Linked DNA regions of Homo sapiens: regions 2, 3, 4, 5 and 6 are each linked to region 1. The links are contacts of gene promoters, found by promoter capture Hi-C in blood cells and fetal thymus (Javierre and others, 2016). All regions are on one chromosome and are shown on one strand. Each heading gives the region's core, a stretch centred on a gene start or on the middle of the fragment in contact. The rest is flanking DNA. Distances are from core to core; before and after follow the strand shown.

Region 1 (2,900 bases), core at 249-2,748:
GGCTCTGGGGCTAATCCAGGTTAGAGGACTTGACCAAAAACATACCCTCCCACCAAGCATATAGAGGGATAATTTTGCTTAAGAACCAGTTTTTATTTTGTTGCTATCAAATTTCCAAAATACAATGTTATAGCCTTTTGCCTGAGGCAGTTAAATGGATTTCTTACTTGTGTGGCTTTTAAATAACTTGCATAAACGTTTTCTGTGCTATATTTGTGAATAAAAATGATTTTCTAATCATGTAGCACCTTGAAAAATATTTTTGTAAATGTTATGAAGGGTGCAATGTTAGTGACACAGGTGCAAATATGTTTCTAAATCCAGGAAAAGTCTGTTTTCCAAGTCAGGTTTGTTCTCAATGCTTCATCTATCTTCAGGCCTCAAAAGGATTCTAAAGCATTTCTGGGTTTAGTGACCTTTTCTAAAGAAAAATAATTAAGGTTTTAATCTATATGGTCTTGAACTTAAGCACGGCTGCTCAGGAGCTGGATGAATAAGGAGGGAGAAAAAGCATATTTAAAATAAATTATTCCGAAGACACGGCTTAGTGAAAAGGTAAATGGACATAGGAACTTTAACCAGTTACAGCTTGGTGTGCAGTTGAAGAATCAGATTTTGCATTTATGATTTTTAATCTAAGATTCAGAGGGAGGAATTACTTTGTTCAAGGTCTATTTATGGTAGAGTTGTCTTTAGACTCCTTTGAATTTCTTTTTATTAATCCAAACATATATTATTAAACACTTTTTTTTTTTGATGCAATTTTGGCTTTTTCTGAGAGAGCCACATTCAAAGTCAGGCTGTCCTAGTAGCCAGCTGTGTGGTCCTAGGCAAATTACTTAACCTCTCTGATCCTGTTTCCTTATCAGAAACTGGGAATAGTACTCTGCAGGGTGGTTGGGCAGATGAAATAGAATCACCTATGTAGTGTGACCCTCCCATAGTAGGGCCTCCATTAATATTCAGTTTTTTCCTCTCATTTCTATTGTTTAGAAGGACAGAAACATGCAATGTCCTGCGAACATTTCCAAGTGGCTTCCTCTCCTCCAAAAGCTTCAGCTGCCTGGCAACCCTCCCCGCAGTATCAAGCAGGCGCATTTTAAAGTCTCTTTAGCGGGAGGGCAGGGTTAGAGCCTTCGGTCATTTGTTTTCTAACTTGACATAAAACAACGTAACGCAGTCGCTCAGCGAGCCGTTGGCCAGCCTCGCTCGCCCGGGGAGGAGGGAGGAGGTGGCGCGGGGCGCGGGACCAGGCCTTATTCGGAGGCTGTCGCTGCATCCCTACGGCCGCATCGCGGCCGAGCCCTCGCCTCCCGGGCCGGTGTCTCCGGCTGCTCGGAGGCGTCGGGAGCCGCGCGGGACTCGGGGCGGCCCGGGCGCGCGGCGCTGATTGGCAGAGAGGGCGCCGCCGTCCAGGAAACGGCTCGGGTTTCAGTGGGGGCGTGACCCGCCGCGAGGAGGCGGGGGCGGCGGCGGCGGCGCGGGCGGCGGCTGGAGGAGAGCGCGGTGGAGAGCCGAGCGGGCGGGCGGCGGGTGCGGAGCGGGCGAGGGAGCGCGCGCGGCCGCCACAAAGCTCGGGCGCCGCGGGGCTGCATGCGGCGTACCTGGCCCGGCGCGGCGACTGCTCTCCGGGCTGGCGGGGGCCGGCCGCGAGCCCCGGGGGCCCCGAGGCCGCAGCTTGCCTGCGCGCTCTGAGCCTTCGCAACTCGCGAGCAAAGTTTGGTGGAGGCAACGCCAAGCCTGAGTCCTTTCTTCCTCTCGTTCCCCAAATCCGAGGGCAGCCCGCGGGCGTCATGCCCGCGCTCCTCCGCAGCCTGGGGTACGCGTGAAGCCCGGGAGGCTTGGCGCCGGCGAAGACCCAAGGACCACTCTTCTGCGTTTGGAGTTGCTCCCCGCAACCCCGGGCTCGTCGCTTTCTCCATCCCGACCCACGCGGGGCGCGGGGACAACACAGGTCGCGGAGGAGCGTTGCCATTCAAGGTAATCGCCGCGCAAGACGCCTCGGGGAGCTTCGCCAGCCGGGGACGTGGGCGCCACGGGAGCCCGGGACGCCGGGTGCACCGTCCTCCGGGCGGGGGGCGCGGAAGGACTAGCATTGTGGAGGACGCTCCGTGTCCTCCCTCTGTGGCTGCATAGGTGATGGGGGAGGTGGGTGCGTGCTGACGGCCGGCGTTCTGGAAGTTCTGCCTCTGCTACCCCCATCCAGATGCTGACATCTGCTTCTGGCGTTGACGCCCCCCTCCCTGTCAAACCCTGGCGGGCGCATTCCCGCTGACTGGGCGCGTTTCTCCGACCCCAGAGCAGACGGGCGGAAGGTTCGCCTGCCCGTGGCACAGCCCCGCAGGCCGGTTCCCGGGGTCATCTCCGAGGTGCCCCATCCGTGTGTCCTGGGAACTTCCGTACCATCCAGGCCCTGCGGAGACCCCTTTTTCGGGAGGGGGCCGCTGGGGTGGGGCCGGTGACATCCCGTAGGGGTGGCGATGGCCAGGGGTGGCACTGCTGGGGAGGCGACGGCTCCGGTGCCTGGGCGCCCCTCGCCCGCAGCCGCCGTCGGCGCTGGAGGGAGCGCAGTGCGCCTGGGGCTAGGGGGCGAACTGGACCGACTTTTTCTAGTTCGCCTGCCTGCTCTGCCGCAGCGGCTGGGAGATGTCGAAAGCGCAGGCGAGTTCTAACTTGCGCGCTCATTTTTTTCGGCCACGGGGCCGCGCTGGGGAAAAAAGCCGAGGGCCCTGCGTGGCGCTGGCTCCGACCCTCGCGGACCACGGACCTGGCGCAGGAGGCCCGCTCGGGGACCACCAGCCTCCGTCGCTCTCCTCGCACCCCGCTCCCTTGCAGACCGTTCTCCAGACCCTCCTTCCTTTCTCCCAATTCAATAAAACCTACCCTTAAAGGCAAACCTG
Region 2 (2,700 bases), core at 81-2,580, 600 kb after region 1:
GCCAGGTTACACTTTGCATGACATAACTCTTCCCGTGCCTAGAAATTGCTGTTGCCTTCTCCCCCACCACCTCAGCCCAAATGTCAAATGCTTTCAGCAACGCATGTCTAGGCCTTTCTCTGAAGCCCTTTTGTCCTCTTTGCCCCCTAGTGGCATGTCAAGTATACCATAGAGAATAGGTACACCAGGCCCCTTTCTTCCAGAAGCTTCTATTCTAGAGAACAAAGGAGCAAATTGATACGTAATTACAAATGGTAATTTGCACCGTGGAAGAAACAGAGAGCACAGGTCATAGAGAAACCTGGCGCGGGGAGGCTTCTATAAGGAGGCAGCATTCAGTAGTGACTCAAAGAGTAAGGAGGCCATAGCCCTCTCAATCTTGGAGCCTCACAACTCCCGGACGTCCTGTTGGCCTCCTGTGCCAGCAGCACACTTTCTGTCACTCAGAATCATGTCTGTGGTGGAAGCAAATTGGCCAAGACCTGGGATGTGAAACCCCTGCAGCCTTCACCAGCTGTTCTCCCGCTCCATGATCACGGGATCCAGAGGGAGTTGTGCAGGGGGTCCCTCCCAGGGGCTTCATCCTAAGACCCTTGGGTGGTCCCTAAGAACCGAGGCTTCCTTTCTACCCTCGTTCTTTCTTGACCTTCAGGTTCCAGTCGAGAAGGCCAGTGTCTACTCACCACAAAAAATCACAGGAAAGAGGAAAAGAGCATCTCCCCCGGTGTGAAAGCCCAAACAGAGGAGTTGCCTTGTGGAGGGAAGCAGTTCTAATCACTCCGGTGCTCCAGAAAACACTTCATGCCCAGCAAGGCAGCCCCTGGGTTCCCCCCGCCATTTCAGCCATGTTTCCTCCCTTTACCCCCTGGAGTCCAACCGAATGGCAGCTCCAGCCACAGTGCACTCAATACCAATCTGGCTTCTGGCAAGTTGTTCCTAGGCACTCCACAGGCCAGCTGAGCCCCCAGCTACATCACTCAGATAAGAAGGTGCCATCGGGCCACCCTCAGCGCCCCTTTGCTCTGCACCGCTGCAGGGCTGAGCATCAGGGATCCCCCCACCCAAGGGAAACCCACTGCCAGGGCCTTTCTCTGTGCTGAGTGCACAGACTCCCTCTGCAGGGCCCGCCCAGGAGTGGGTATTTCCCCTCCTCCCCTCCCTGGGTCCTTTGGGACCTGCACCCTACATTTGCACCCCTTGCTCCTCCTGCAGGCCCAGGTAGCATCTCCTCCGGTCTGTTTACTGTCTCTCACCTTCCTGGGTCCCCAAGTCAAGCTGTAAAGGCGGCCACTTGTGATTCAGGAGATGCCCATTTTGTGCACTGTTTGCTTCTGGAACTTGATTGGCAGCTTTAGGCTAATAGCACATTCTTTTTTAAGAAGACATCTATTGTTCCTTGACATAGGCACTAGGCTGAGGGCAAATATCATGTAATTCCACAATCATCAGCCCAAAGGGAGAGCACTGGTATTTTCCCATTTTTATAGCTGGGAAACAGCGGCTCTGAGTGACTGAGTGACTTGTCCAAGGTTCTGGGACTTGGAAGGGCAATGCTGAAATTTGGATCCAAGACTCCAAAAGCACGTGTGTACAGCCACCATGCCACCCTGCCTGCCCAGGTACCACTTGCCTCAGCCTTTCCTGGAGGACTTGGCAGCTCCTCAGCCTCTGTGGGTTTTAGGAAGTGGCTCAGCAGCAAAGTGGGAGGCAGCAGGAACTCCCCATGGAGCAGCGCTGGCCAGCAGCAGGGCCAGGCTCATCCCCCACCTTCAAGGGCAGAGGCCAAGGCTGGACAGACAGTTGTAAATTCTACAGCTGCCTGCTGCCAAGCTGGGAGTCAGTGTGTGGAGGGGGCCAGAGAGGCTCTCGGGGCACAGAGGCCAGTCCCCCTGGGCCAGTGTCCACGACTCCAAAGCAGGGAACTGATGGGAGATCTGGGAGCTATGGTCAGTCGTTGGGGGAGGAGGGCAGTGGGGAGTTAGATCGTTGTTCTGGGAAAGTTCCAAGAGCCTTAGTCGGCCACTTCACAGGAGACCCGGGTCCTCCTAGGCACCAACCTGAGGTTGCATAGCCAGGGCAGGACTCACCCCCAAGACCTGGCCTTTAAATGGGAGCTTTTATTCACTGTGCCCTGGGGCCTCCAGAATGCCAGCCAGGGCATTGGCACAGTGGCTGTGGGAGCTTTAGAATACCACCAAGAATAATAATAGCTACCATTTATTTAACACTTTCTGTGTGCCAGGCACTTGCTGAATGCTCTGCACGTATGCATCACTTGACATAGTCACCACAAGAACCCTGGAGGCTGATGCCATGATTAGCTACATCTCACGGTTGAAGAAGCACAGCTGGGAAGGGGCAGAGCCTGCGCTGGACCCCAGGCTTGGGATGAAGCATGAGGCTTCAATGGCTGTGCTGGAGATGTTGTCATTGATATTTGCTCAACAAGCTTTAATGGAGAGTGTTCTGGGGACAGCACAGAGGGTAGAAGGAGAGTATAAATCTCTCCCTCTCTCTTCACACAAACACACACACACACACGCACACACACACACACAGTCTGGTCATGCCAAGCAGCCAGATGAACACACTGCTACACAGAGCAGCATACACCAGGGGCCACACCAGTGGGTGGTACAGAGAAATTTGTGTTGAGATTGGAGGTGAGAAGGTGCAGGGAAGAAGGATCTCCTCAAGGTG
Region 3 (2,923 bases), core at 375-2,874, 670 kb after region 1:
TGTTCTCAGGGTTGCTTTTGTTTTGGTTTGGTTTGATTTGGCTTACGTGTTTTTGTTGTTTTCTTCCCCATGAAACTTCTAGGCTTGGAAAAAAATTGTCTGATGGTCTCTCAGCTTCGTATATAGAAAAGATTTAGTTTCACTCTGGGAAAAGACATTAAATCCTTTAGCGTCAGCCAAGGTCAGATCAGTTGAAAGGGAGCCCTGAGGCTGTGCTCTGGAAAGAAACCATCTGTCTCCATGGTTGAGGTACTAGCCTCCTACAAGGCTTAGACCCCTGGATCCTCCCTGGTACTGCAGTGCTGGGCCTTCCAGAAATCCTATTGAGAGAGTGGCATCGTTGCTCTGTTGCCTGCTTAGAAAGGCTTTCTAGGCCGGGTGCGGTGGCTCACGACTGTAATCCCAGCACTTTGGGAGGCCGAGGTGGGCGGATGACGAAGTCAGGAGATCGAGACCATCCTGGTTAACACGATGAAAACCCGTCTCTACTAAAAATACAAAAAATTAGCTGGGTGTGGTGGCGGGCACCTGTAGTCCCAACTACTCGGGAGGCTGAGGCAGGAGAATGGAGTGAACCCAGGAGGCGGAGCTTGCAGTGAGCGGAGATCGCGCCACTGCACTCCAGCCTGGGTGACAGAGTGAGACTCCGTCTCAAAAAAAAAAAAAAAAAAAAAAAAAAAAAAAAAAAAAAAGAGAGAAAACAAAGGCTTTCTGTAGCACACCCAGCAAGTTCCTGTGCTTCTCGAGCAACTGTGCCCACTCCTAATCCAGCATGGATTCCATGGGGCATTCACAGCATGAACGGAAGGGAGGGAGAGAGGGAGGGAGAAGGGAAGGGAGGGAGGGAAAGCAAAGAGGGGAGAAGGAAATTCCTCAGCAAATGAGTTTAGCTAGTATTGGCTGAAACACATTTAAGCAGGTGTCTTTATGGTAGGACTTCTCAGAGCCTTTGAAGTGCAAGCGTGCACTGGGAATCTCTGAGGGGAGACATTGAATGCCCTGTTTTCCCAGCTCATTTGGTTCCTATCCCATTTGTTTTTTCTCAGGAATATCTTGTGGGACTAGTGTTTCACGGCATTTTCTTTTGAAATGCTGGGAAAATAATATGTTAACCTTAAACTGTCACCTCTGGATTCTGATCTTCCTTCTGCACAGATACTCACTCCCACAAACACTGAGCCCTTATTGTGAGCCTACCAGGGGCTGAATAGGGATCTAGGGAGATCTCAGAAGGGACCTGTTTCTCCCATTGGTTTACTGAGCTCCATTCGGCCAAGAGGTAGGGCTTTTACAGCACAAATAGTGACAGGCAACATTTTTCTGCCAAGCTGTATTCTAAGAGCTTTATGACTGCAAGAGGGAAGCACTGTCATTAAGCCAATTTTGCAGATGGGGAAACTGAGGCATGGCAATGGCAGAGCTGGGAATCACCTCTGGGGGTCTGGCTCCAGGGCCTAGCTCTTCACTGCCTGGGGAGCCACAGCTCAGGCACTCACAGGGCTGCCGAGGGGACACGCGTGGGCAGAGTGAGCAGACCAGGTAGTGGGTGAAGGACTCAGTTCATCCCTCTATTCTATACCCCACCCCAAACACACATACGTTCTAGAAACAGAAATACCAGCTTTTCAAGACAGAGATTGCTGCTCGGTTTCATACCTGCCTACAGATTTGAGAAAAGAAAACACAAAACAATGACACATCATTTTTCTTCCTTGAAAGTACTTTTTTCTGTATTCATCGCTTCAATAAATGTTGTCAGACTAATTAAACACTGCAGTTATTAAGTTTTCTGAGAATTGCACTTAAATCGAACACCGTGTGCGTTTGCTAAAGGAAATGGAATCTGATGAGAAGAGGGGAGAGGACTAGTCCTGTTATATGTGCCGGGAAAAAAAAAAACTTTTTTGAAATGTAATTAGCCTACACCTGTTGGTCACCTTTCTAGAACACCGCAGACAGTCAGGGCACTTGTCATGGCAGAGTCAGGTGGGAAGGCCTCTGGTGCCCGGGGGCTGAGGACTCAGGCTGGTGCTGGCTGGTCTCACCTGGTTCCGCTGAGCCCTCCAGAGGCCCCAGCTCTCAGCACAGATGCAGACAGACCCTTCCTGGGCCAGACCAGTGTGACCCTATCAGTGACCCTTTTGGGGACCTAAATGTGTGGCTGCTCACATCATCATGTGGGCTGAGGCTGTTTCAATCTTGATTCAACATTCAGTTCCCCTCTCTGGCTTTTCCCCCAAACCGAATCACATTAAGCATTTGGTGGATTTCAGAATTTCACTAAGGCTTTGTAAAGTCCCGAGGAGAGGCCTATGTCACAGTTTATGGCATTCCTGAGAAAGGTCCCCATTACCTGTGCATCTCCTTCCAAGGCAGCTCAGTGTCATCACAGCAACCGTGCTGATTGCCGACAGAGCAGGGCAAGCACCAAGCTCTGACAACACCCTGGAGGCTGTGGGCAGCTCCTCTCCAGTCTCCCACCCCAGCAGGCTGAGACGGTTCTAAACGAGCCCTGCAATCTGGAAACGGTGCTGCAGAACCACTTCCCTGCTGTAGCTGCTGCAGGACTCCCCTCAGTTCCGATCTTTTCTTTCCCCTCCCTGAGTTTCCCTCTGCCTGCCATGGCTTTGCCACCTTCTTGAGCTCCTGGGGCTCTTCGGACCACACTGAGGCTGGTTCCTCTGCAGGAGGGACCCTGGCTGGATCCCCTCGCTGAGCTCACACCGGGCCCTCAAGTGGCATGTGCCCTCCCGCCTGCTCACTTCTGCCCCACTGTCCATACTGCCTGCAGGGGTCTCCTCTCCTGCTGCCAGCCTCTGGCCGGCCCCCTACCTGCAGGGCTGCTCCCTGGCCCCCTTCACTTACCTACATCTCCTCCCACCTCCCCAGAACTGCTGCCCTCCCCACTCAGTTTCCATCCAAG
Region 4 (2,991 bases), core at 100-2,599, 640 kb after region 1:
GGAATTCTGCCCTGGCTGGAAAGACTCAGACCTCAGCACTTTTCTGAGCAGTGGGGACTTGGGCCAGAGTCTCCACCTCTGATTCCGGTTCCCAGAATGGCAGCAAGATGTGTCGGGGGGAGCTGGCCTTCGAGGGCCTTCCAAATCTGAGGAATGAGGCTAGGGAATCTTGAGGTTTTTTCTATTTTTATTATAAATAGTGAAATATAAATGATTGTTTCATACAATTTTAATAAAAATTCAAGAGTTAAGGAACTTAGCCCTATGCCTGGCAGAGAGTAAGAACCTTAAAAATCTTCATTGTGAAACAATACATTTCTAATTATAGAAGCAGTTCTTTCACTGTAAACAAATTTAGAAAACACGGAAAAGTACAAAGAACAAAACTAAATTGTTCTATAATCCCAACTCCCAGACATGGTACCTTAGTAATATATATAATTTCAGAATTTTTTCTACTCAGAAATTGAAAATATCTGGATTATAAACTAAATATATCTGTTTTAGACATCGTAAATAAAATATATTAATCACAAAAATGGGCCTATGATGTGTATATTGTTTGACTGTATTTTCATTTTGCATTTCATAAATTTTTCATGTTAATAAATATTCATCAATGCATTTTCATGATTGCATAGTGTTTCATTAAATTATAAATGAACATCCTTGTACACAATCATTCACTCATTTGCCTGATAATTTTCTCCAGATAAGTTTCCAAAGTTGGACTCCCAGCATCAAAGATTTTAGGTGCACACAACCGAACTCCCCTCCCAAACAAGTGTACGGGGTTCCATCGTGAGCTCTTCTCTGACACCAAAAATATATATAATTGATCCTCATTGTTCATAAATTCCATGTTGGCAAATTCTTCTACTTGATAAAATTAACTTGTAACCCCCAAATCAAGACTTGCAGCATGTTCACGGTCATTCACAGACAAGCGCAGAGTGATGAACACGTATGTGCATGTTCAGCTCTCACACTATGAGCAAATGTCCTTTCATGCTCTGTTTAGTGCAACATTTTTCTCATTTTTGTGCTTTTTTCTTGATGATTTCGCTGTTTAAAATGGCCCCTAGGCACAGTGCTGAAGTGCCGTCTGGTGTTCCTAAGCGCAAGAAGGGTCTTTCCTGCCTTATAGAGAGAGTTTATGCGTTAGATAAGCTTGTTCATGCATAAGTGATAGTGCCATGGGCACTGAGTTCAATATCAGTGAGTCAACAGTATACATTAAATAAGGGGTCTTTAAACAGAAACACACATAAAACACGGTTATGCATTGATCTGTTGACAAAAACAGTATGATCAGAGGCTCACAGGGACCAAACCTTGTATTTCCCCTGGGAGCAGTGGGTCAGGACGTGCTAATTCGGTGTTCAGAGTGCCTGTATTGAACATAACCACCACAGATGATGAGAATGACTGTATGTATCTTAGGTGTATGAATCTTTCAGACTGCAGAGGTCTTGCCTGTGGATTACAGACCTCCTCTATTCGTGGACATCCTTTCCCAAAAGCTTTCCAGAAAGTCTCTTTGGCAAATAGAATTCAAATTTTATCTTTTAACTCTTAATGCCTGGTACATAGTAAGCGCATAAATACAGTGTGTGTTGAATGAGTGGGAAAATAAATGTTAGAGGTTGTTATACACTTTGGATCCCAGTTCAGCATAATGAATTTCTCGGTTTCTTCTTTCATTAGCCCTGCCTTTGGCTGGGTTCCTCGTAGACATCTCTGAGGCATAAGCACCCAGCTCACATGTGCCTTCCCAGAGAAGCAAACTTCTGATGACTCCCTTGACCTTCACCACCCACTTAATCTAAAGGCCATTGATAGCATTGAGAAAAGCAGTGACGTGGCATGGATAATCACATTTCCCATGTCAAAAAGTAGAAAACAAGGATGTTATCTGATTTATAAATGTATTTATGTGGAAGAAGAAGAAGATTTGCAGAAGAATAACATTTTATGAAATTATGCAAAGTGAAAGTTATACAAAGTTCAAATTTCAGTGTTCATAAATAATTTTATTGGAACATGGCCACACCCACTTATTAGCGATCATCTGTGTCTGATTTGTCGATACTACAGTAGGGCTGAGTGGTCCCTACAGAGACTAGACAGCCCCAAAAAGCCTGAAACATTTGCTCTCTGGTCCTTTACAGAAAAAGTTTGCTACTCCTTGGTCTAGCGGTATGAGAAGATATTTGGTCACAATATACTTTTAAGTGTACATACGTGTGCATGCGCAGTAATGTGTACCTGCACACTAATGTGTATGAAAATTCTTTTGCTTAGAATAGTGGTTCTAAAACTATTTGGTCTCAGAGCCCCTTTTGAATCCTGAAGATCGCAGAGAACCCAAAAGAGCTTTTTTAAAATGGGGATTTTGTTTATTGCCATTTGCCATATTTAGAAATTAAAACTATGAACATTTTAAGTATTTACTTGAGGTTGAGCATGGTGGCTCACGCCTGTAATCCCAGTACTTTGGGAGGCCGAGGCGGGCGGATCACCTGAGGTCAGGAGTTCGAGACCAGCCTGACCAACATGGAGAAACCCCGTGTCTACTAAAAATACAAAATTAGCCAGGCATGGTGGTGCGTGCCTGTAATCCCAGCTACTTGGGAGGCTGAGGCAGGAGAATTGCTTGAACCCAGGAGGTGGAGGTTGCGGTGAGCCGAGATGGTGCCAATGCACTCCAGCCTGGGCAACAAGAGCAAAACTCTGTCTCAAAAAAAAAAAATTGATGGATCATTGGATGAGGGTCTAAAAAGTAAAATATTAATTTATTTACAATAACATAATAAACCTGTTATATGTTAATATAAATAATACATTTTTGTGAAAAACAACGATATTTTTCAAAACAAAAATATCAGCTGAGAAGAGTGGGATTGATTTATATATTTGCAAATTTCCTTAAAGTCTGGGTGAACAGAAGACAGGTGGATGTTCACTCTGTTGTGACATTACGTACACACA
Region 5 (2,700 bases), core at 50-2,549, 620 kb after region 1:
GCTTAGGGCCTGAGAACATTCGGAGACCGGTAAGACCCGTCTCTTTGCCGAGGTTCGCGTCGATGGCGAATAATGACATCGACTCCGAGAGTGCTGAACCTGTCCACGCGGCGGAAGGAGTTGCAATGAGAAGTGAACGAGAAAGCGTGTAGAAAGGGTGTGGGCGTGGCTTGTGCGTTAGGCGAGCTGTTCACCTGCACTGCTCAACGCGCGGTCCAGGCGCCGGCAGCATCCGCACCTCCTGGCAGGCTGCTGCAAAGGCGGGTCTCAGGCGGCTGCATCAGGGCTGCACGTTAATTCGGTCCCTAGGCGACTTGTGTGCGCAGTAGTTTGAGAAGCCCGGTCTATGTAACCAGTGGCTCTAGTAACAATAGGAATAATACTGGCTAATATGTATCGAGTGCCTAGCGTGAGTCCAGCACTGTTTTAAGCACCTTACAAAACTGTCCTGTTTAATCCTTATGACATGACAGGTGCAGCATGTTGCTGACGAGAAGGTTGAGGTCCGCAGAGGTTTGGTGCTTTGTCAGAGATTACACAGCTGATGATTAGAAGCCCAGGCTACCATAGGCTCGCATACGAGCACGAGTGCAGAAGCCCCTTCTAGGTTAGCCCTGGTGTGTGTGTCACTTCAAGTTGGAAACTGTCCTTTGAAATAATCAGGGGCCAAATCTTGTCTGCTTAACGTGCACCCAGCTGAGATGGATCAGTAGGAAGCTCACTTGGCTCAAGAAGACGCACTCCTCCTGCCTCCCACCTCAGTCTGCTGGAGATAAACATGTGGCATGTCTCCTCTCCACCGTGCAGTGTTTAGAAAGGAACATCAGTGCTGATGGAACCCACCCCCACCGCACACATACCCTCAGGTCCGCCGTGGCCCCATGAAAGGGTTAACTTAGGGCTCCCTCACTACATAAATCTGTGTTTATCTGCTGCAAAGTAAGCTATTTAGGTTTCTGATTTACAATCCTTGGTTTTCATAAAAGTCAGTCATTCCCAGTAAAAGAATGTGGGTTAGATTTATAGGATCTGCGTTAATCTTTAAAGCCCAAAGCCGGTCTATGACTCACCCTCTGTAATGTTCTTGCTCTAGTCCGGAGATATTCATGTGTAAAGAGAAAGAGTCGGATCTCTGCCCTGAAAAATAAGACTTTTGGGGGGAACTAATTATAATGGCGTCAATTGTACTACGCTTGTAAATTTGCCGTCAGCGGGCCCCCCGGAGCCTGTATTCCAGGGGTTTTATTCCTCAGTAAAATGTGCTCTGGTTTGCAGTTTGGCATATAAGACCTCCACTGGTATGAGCCAATGTTTTTTTCTACCAAATTATTAGAAATAAACAGCCCACCAGTGGAAAGGCAGCAAAATTATAAGCAAGGAAAATAAATCTTGGAATGTTTGCATTTGGCGATTTTAATAAAGTCAGTCACTTAGCCCAGCAGCCCAACTGGCTAAATGGAGCTGTCCTGGTATTTTTACTTTAATTTGAGTTTGTGTTTTGCCAGTGTGAAATGGGGTCAAGGCAAGACACCATGGAAAAAGGCTTTGATGTCTCCTTGAAAAATATCTTGCACTGTGACTTCATGATACTTAGTGTCCTCTCCCCTTCCCCACCCTCAGCCTCCAGCTTGAAGAGCTGAACGTCTAACCCATGACCATCACACGTAATAAAATATCGCCGTCATCAACAATCCTCTTTCCAACTCCCTCCCCTTCCCCAGTGAAGTCAGAATTCAGGCCAGAATCTTACAATGTGAAATACAAATGCTGATCAAGATAACATAATATTATTAAAGGGGACGGAGGAGACCGGCCTTTTAAACTTTCTCCAAAGTAAAGCCAAGGTGAGAGGCCCAAGTGCGAGAGGAGAGAAGGGAAGGAAGGTTGTATGGATTGGGCTGATGGCCAGTCCAAATAGAACTGGTTTAGGAGGTGAAGATTTAGCGGTGGGTGGACAAATGGAGAGCAATGGATTGGGAAGGATGGCAGAGAGCAATGATCCCAGAATAAAAGCCAGTGCTCCCTCACCAAATGTATGAAAGAGAAAGATGTGATTATATTTGCAAGAGCCTTAATTTAGTCTTAACAAGGGTAATGTGAAAGACTTTGACATTTTCGCTCTTGGTTGGGGGTCAGGAAATGTTTACTACAGATCTACAAGGTGTAGCTCAAGGCCCCAGGACACATAGACTAACGTGACATACCTTAACTTTTTCCCAGACCAATGAGAAAGCAGATGAGTGGACAGAGGATTTTAGTACAAGTACGCAGTGCATACAGAATGCTTCAAATCTACCATGTGTAACCCATTAATATTTCAATGTAAACAATGAAATCCTGTTGGGCCTTTTTTTTTTTTTTTTTTTGAGACGGAGTCTTGCTGTGTTGCCAGGCTGGAGTGCAGTGGCACGATCTCGGCTCACTGCAACCTCCGCCTCCTTGGTTCAAGCAATTCTCCTGCTTCAGCCTCCCGAGTAGCTGGGACTACAGGGGTGCACCACCATGCCCAGCTAATTTTTGTATTTTTAGTAGAGACAGGGTTTCACCATGTTGGCCAGGATGGTCTCAATCCCTTGACCTCGTGATCCACCCACCTCGGCCTCCCAAAGTGCTGGGATTACAGGCGTAAGCCACTGTGCCTGGCCCTGTTGGGCTTTTAACTCACCTCCTCCTTCACCTCAGTGCAGGGCATTGTGGTAG
Region 6 (2,895 bases), core at 256-2,755, 550 kb after region 1:
TAGTTTAATAGTATCATACCAATATCAGTTTTCTGGTTTTGATATTATACTATAGTTATGTAAGATGCTGTCACTGGGGGAAAGCAGGGTGAAGGTACTGTCTACTATGTTAGAAACTACATGTTTAGTTTAACATCATTTCAAAGTAAAAAAGAAAAGTTTTTTATTTTTCTCTTTTAAAAAGAGAAAACTTGAGCAGCCCTGTTTAGATTTTGGGCCAGGCAAGCCTCATCAATAAGGCATTTTATAGCAATGTGCTTAGGATAAATGGAGAGTCAGAATTTTGAAACAATGTTTAGCAGCCAGTAAATTGACTAGAAGGCAAGGTTAGTGTTTGCATAGCACCTTAAAAAGTTTACAGTCATCCAGCCTGTTAGAACATATGCTGTCCCAACCCCTCCTCCCAAATGTACTGTACCTTAGGGTTTCTGAAGCATGGTACTGTTGGCATTTTGGAATGAGCAATTCTTTGTTGAGGGGGGCTGTCCTGTGTATGGAAGGATACATACATAGATATTGGCATCATGATTTCTACCCTCTAGATGCCAATAGTACCCTGCTTCTCCAGTTGTAACAACCAAAAAATATCTCTAGGCATTGCTAAGTGTCCCCTGGGGGGCAAAATTGTCTCAGTTGAGAATCTCTGCTATACTCATAAAACAAATCTTTTATCTGCACTTTTAAAAGTAAATGAAGGCCGGGCATGATGGCTCACACCTGTAATCCCAGCACTTTGGGAGGCCGAGGCGGGTGGATCAAGAGGTCAGGAGTTTGAGACCAGCCTGACCAACATGGTGAAACCCTGTCTCTACTAAAAGTACAAAAATTAGCGGGGCATGGTGGCACATGCCTATAATCCCAGCTATTCAGGAGGCTGAGGTGGGAGAATCGCTTGAACCCGGGAAGCCGAGGTTGCAGTGAGCAGTGAGCTGAGATTGTGCCACTGCACTCCAGCCTGGGCGACAGAGAGACTCTGTCTCAAAAAAAAGAAAAGAAAAGAAAATGAAAACTTGGTGATTTTATAGGAGATTACAATGACAGCACCCTCCCACCCATCCTTCTGTTGGCCTTAAAGCACAAACTCCTTGAGTAGAGATTCTGAATATTTTGTTTTGTTTTGTTTTCCGAGATGTAGTCTTGCTCTGTCACTCAGGCTGGAGTGCATGGCACGATCTCGGCTCACTGCAATCTCGGCCTCCCGAGTTCAAGCAATTCTCCTGCCTCAGCCTCCCAAGTAGCTGGGATTATAGGCACCCATCACCATGCCCAGCTAATTTTGGTATTTTTAGTAGAGACGAGGTTTCACCATGTTGGCCAGGCTGGTCTCGAACTCCTGACCTTGTGATGCGCCCACCTCAGCCTCCCAAAGTGCTGGGATTATAGGCATGAGCCATAGCACCCGGCGGAGACTCTGAATTTCTTTAAATATACAATCTCACTCATTCTTTAGTGTCATGAACATGTATGGTGGTATTGAAATAGAAATATTTTCCGTTCTTAAAAAACTGAAACAGATATGTCAGGATAAATGTACATAAGATCCCAAAAGAACAGAGTGTGTACAATGTTGGCCTTATTGAGTATCATGTAGACTCGTAATTTCACATGTGAAGGTAACTTGTTACATTAAAACCTTCACAGGCTTTAGTTTATTTAAGCCTCTGGGGCTAACACAGCACATTTCTAAATATTATGAGTTTTGTAAAGGTGCATGGCGAACAAGCAGCCTGCCGGTGCACTGGAAAAGTGATAAAAATCTGCGCGGAGCTTAATCACAGCTTTCTCGGGAGTGTATATTTATGTGGTGATGTCAGCATGGTATCCTATAACTGGCTGAAGGTCATGTTCTGTGTTCATCTGCACGGGATTTAGAAACTCTCAAACAGACTTGCTGGAGAAAAATGGCCAGCTGAGTTGGAGCATGGCGGCCCCTTCCCAGTTTGTGTTCTCCTCGAGCAAAGGAAGTGAACAAAGAAATCCATCTTTAAATGAATTCAAAACCACAGAGGCTCCATCTTTTGCCACATGAATTATTTGAGTTATTGAGGCTGGCTCCAGTGTCAAGCCGTGTATGTTGCCTTAATGTATTTATTTAACCCAGGACTGCCGCGGAGAAGGCAGACCCACCTCAGCACGTGAAGGTCTGCGACAAAGGAAACATTCAGACCAGATCCTGTGTAACAAACACATCAGGAACTCTGGACGGGGAAAGATGTTGCAAGCCCAGCACAATGCTGGGCTTTATTCCCCTTGTGGAGTCAGGCTGTAGTCAGCCAAACTGTAAACTGCTGTTGACTGAGCCGACCCAGCCGGATGGCCGACCTGGAGGGAGAGGGGGCTCCAGCTCGGCTGCTCAGAGCCCTGATGGTGGTGCGGACAAGTCTGGGGCTGTCAGCGGCTTTGTATTTCCTGTCAGGGCTCCGTATTGGCTGCAGGCAGGGAGGTGGAGTCTGCACCGAAAGAATCTAGAAGCCCATTATCATCACACTCTGTTCCATAAACCCACACAGCAATCTGGCCCACTCGGCCAGGTCCTGGACTCAGGCAAACCTCGCTCTATATCTGGAAGGGGAGCACTAAGGTCCCCGAAGATTGCTGGCATGTACCACGTTCTGTGGTTATGGTGACTCTATAAATGACACACTCACCAGGCCAGTCACAGATTAGGGTAATTCCCGTGGAAGGTATTGGGTTTATTGTTTCTTGGTTGGTAGATTTGGCAATTGGGATGCAGTTCAGTGCCTTTGGGTGAAAGTAGGAGCCCAGCTCCCATGAGAGACAGCTTTGTCTTTCCATCAAATCCACCTGAGATGCCACCCACGAAATCCAATCTATTGACAGGGACACAATTCAAACTAATGTCAGCAAAAAATAATTACCACACATTTATTAATA

Evidence for each region. Contacts are between HindIII fragments. The CHiCAGO score rates a contact against its expected background, and 5 or more counts as called.
Region 2: a fragment that was not itself captured here is called in contact with the fragment with the promoter of FGFR2 in region 1 in 1 of 17 cell types (M1 macrophages); the score reaches 6.1 in M1 macrophages.
Region 3: a fragment that was not itself captured here is called in contact with the fragment with the promoter of FGFR2 in region 1 in 1 of 17 cell types (M0 macrophages); the score reaches 6.1 in M0 macrophages.
Region 4: a contact is called between a fragment that was not itself captured here and the fragment with the promoter of FGFR2 in region 1, in 5 of 17 cell types (endothelial precursors, M1 macrophages, M0 macrophages and 2 more). The highest score is 10.6, in endothelial precursors.
Region 5: a contact is called between a fragment that was not itself captured here and the fragment with the promoter of FGFR2 in region 1, in 2 of 17 cell types (M0 macrophages and M1 macrophages). The highest score is 5.6, in M0 macrophages.
Region 6: a fragment that was not itself captured here is called in contact with the fragment with the promoter of FGFR2 in region 1 in 1 of 17 cell types (M2 macrophages); the score reaches 5.4 in M2 macrophages.

What each region holds. Positions count from the first base shown.
Region 1 is chr10:121,597,042-121,599,941 of GRCh38, reverse strand. FGFR2 (fibroblast growth factor receptor 2) reads left to right here and starts at 1,498. Exons shown (of 18, transcript NM_000141.5): 1 at 1,498-1,980. RefSeq lists an enhancer at 2,292-2,900. The HindIII fragment of the contact is 3,911 bases long and covers 1,056-2,900 here.
Region 2 is chr10:120,997,515-121,000,214 of GRCh38, reverse strand. LOC105378521 (a long non-coding RNA gene) reads left to right here. Exons shown (of 4, transcript XR_001747611.2): 4 at 653-849. It overlaps LOC105378520 (a long non-coding RNA gene), which reads left to right and starts at 2,645. Exons shown (of 3, transcript XR_946375.3): 1 at 2,645-2,700. The HindIII fragment of the contact is 2,243 bases long and covers 209-2,451 here.
Region 3 is chr10:120,926,660-120,929,582 of GRCh38, reverse strand. All of the region lies in intron 2 of LOC105378519 (a long non-coding RNA gene), which reads left to right. Among named protein-coding and RNA genes, the nearest start is that of WDR11, 77 kb to the right of the region's middle. The HindIII fragment of the contact is 3,313 bases long and covers 1-2,923 here.
Region 4 is chr10:120,958,983-120,961,973 of GRCh38, reverse strand. All of the region lies in intron 2 of LOC105378519 (a long non-coding RNA gene), which reads left to right. Among named protein-coding and RNA genes, the nearest start is that of WDR11, 110 kb to the right of the region's middle. The HindIII fragment of the contact is 353 bases long and covers 1,173-1,525 here.
Region 5 is chr10:120,977,024-120,979,723 of GRCh38, reverse strand. The region is part of intron 2 of LOC105378519 (a long non-coding RNA gene); the gene reads left to right. Among named protein-coding and RNA genes, the nearest start is that of WDR11, 130 kb to the right of the region's middle. The HindIII fragment of the contact is 9,962 bases long and covers 1-2,700 here.
Region 6 is chr10:121,042,651-121,045,545 of GRCh38, reverse strand. The region is part of intron 3 of LOC105378521 (a long non-coding RNA gene); the gene reads left to right. Among named protein-coding and RNA genes, the nearest start is that of LINC01153, 130 kb to the left of the region's middle. The HindIII fragment of the contact is 5,299 bases long and covers 1-2,895 here.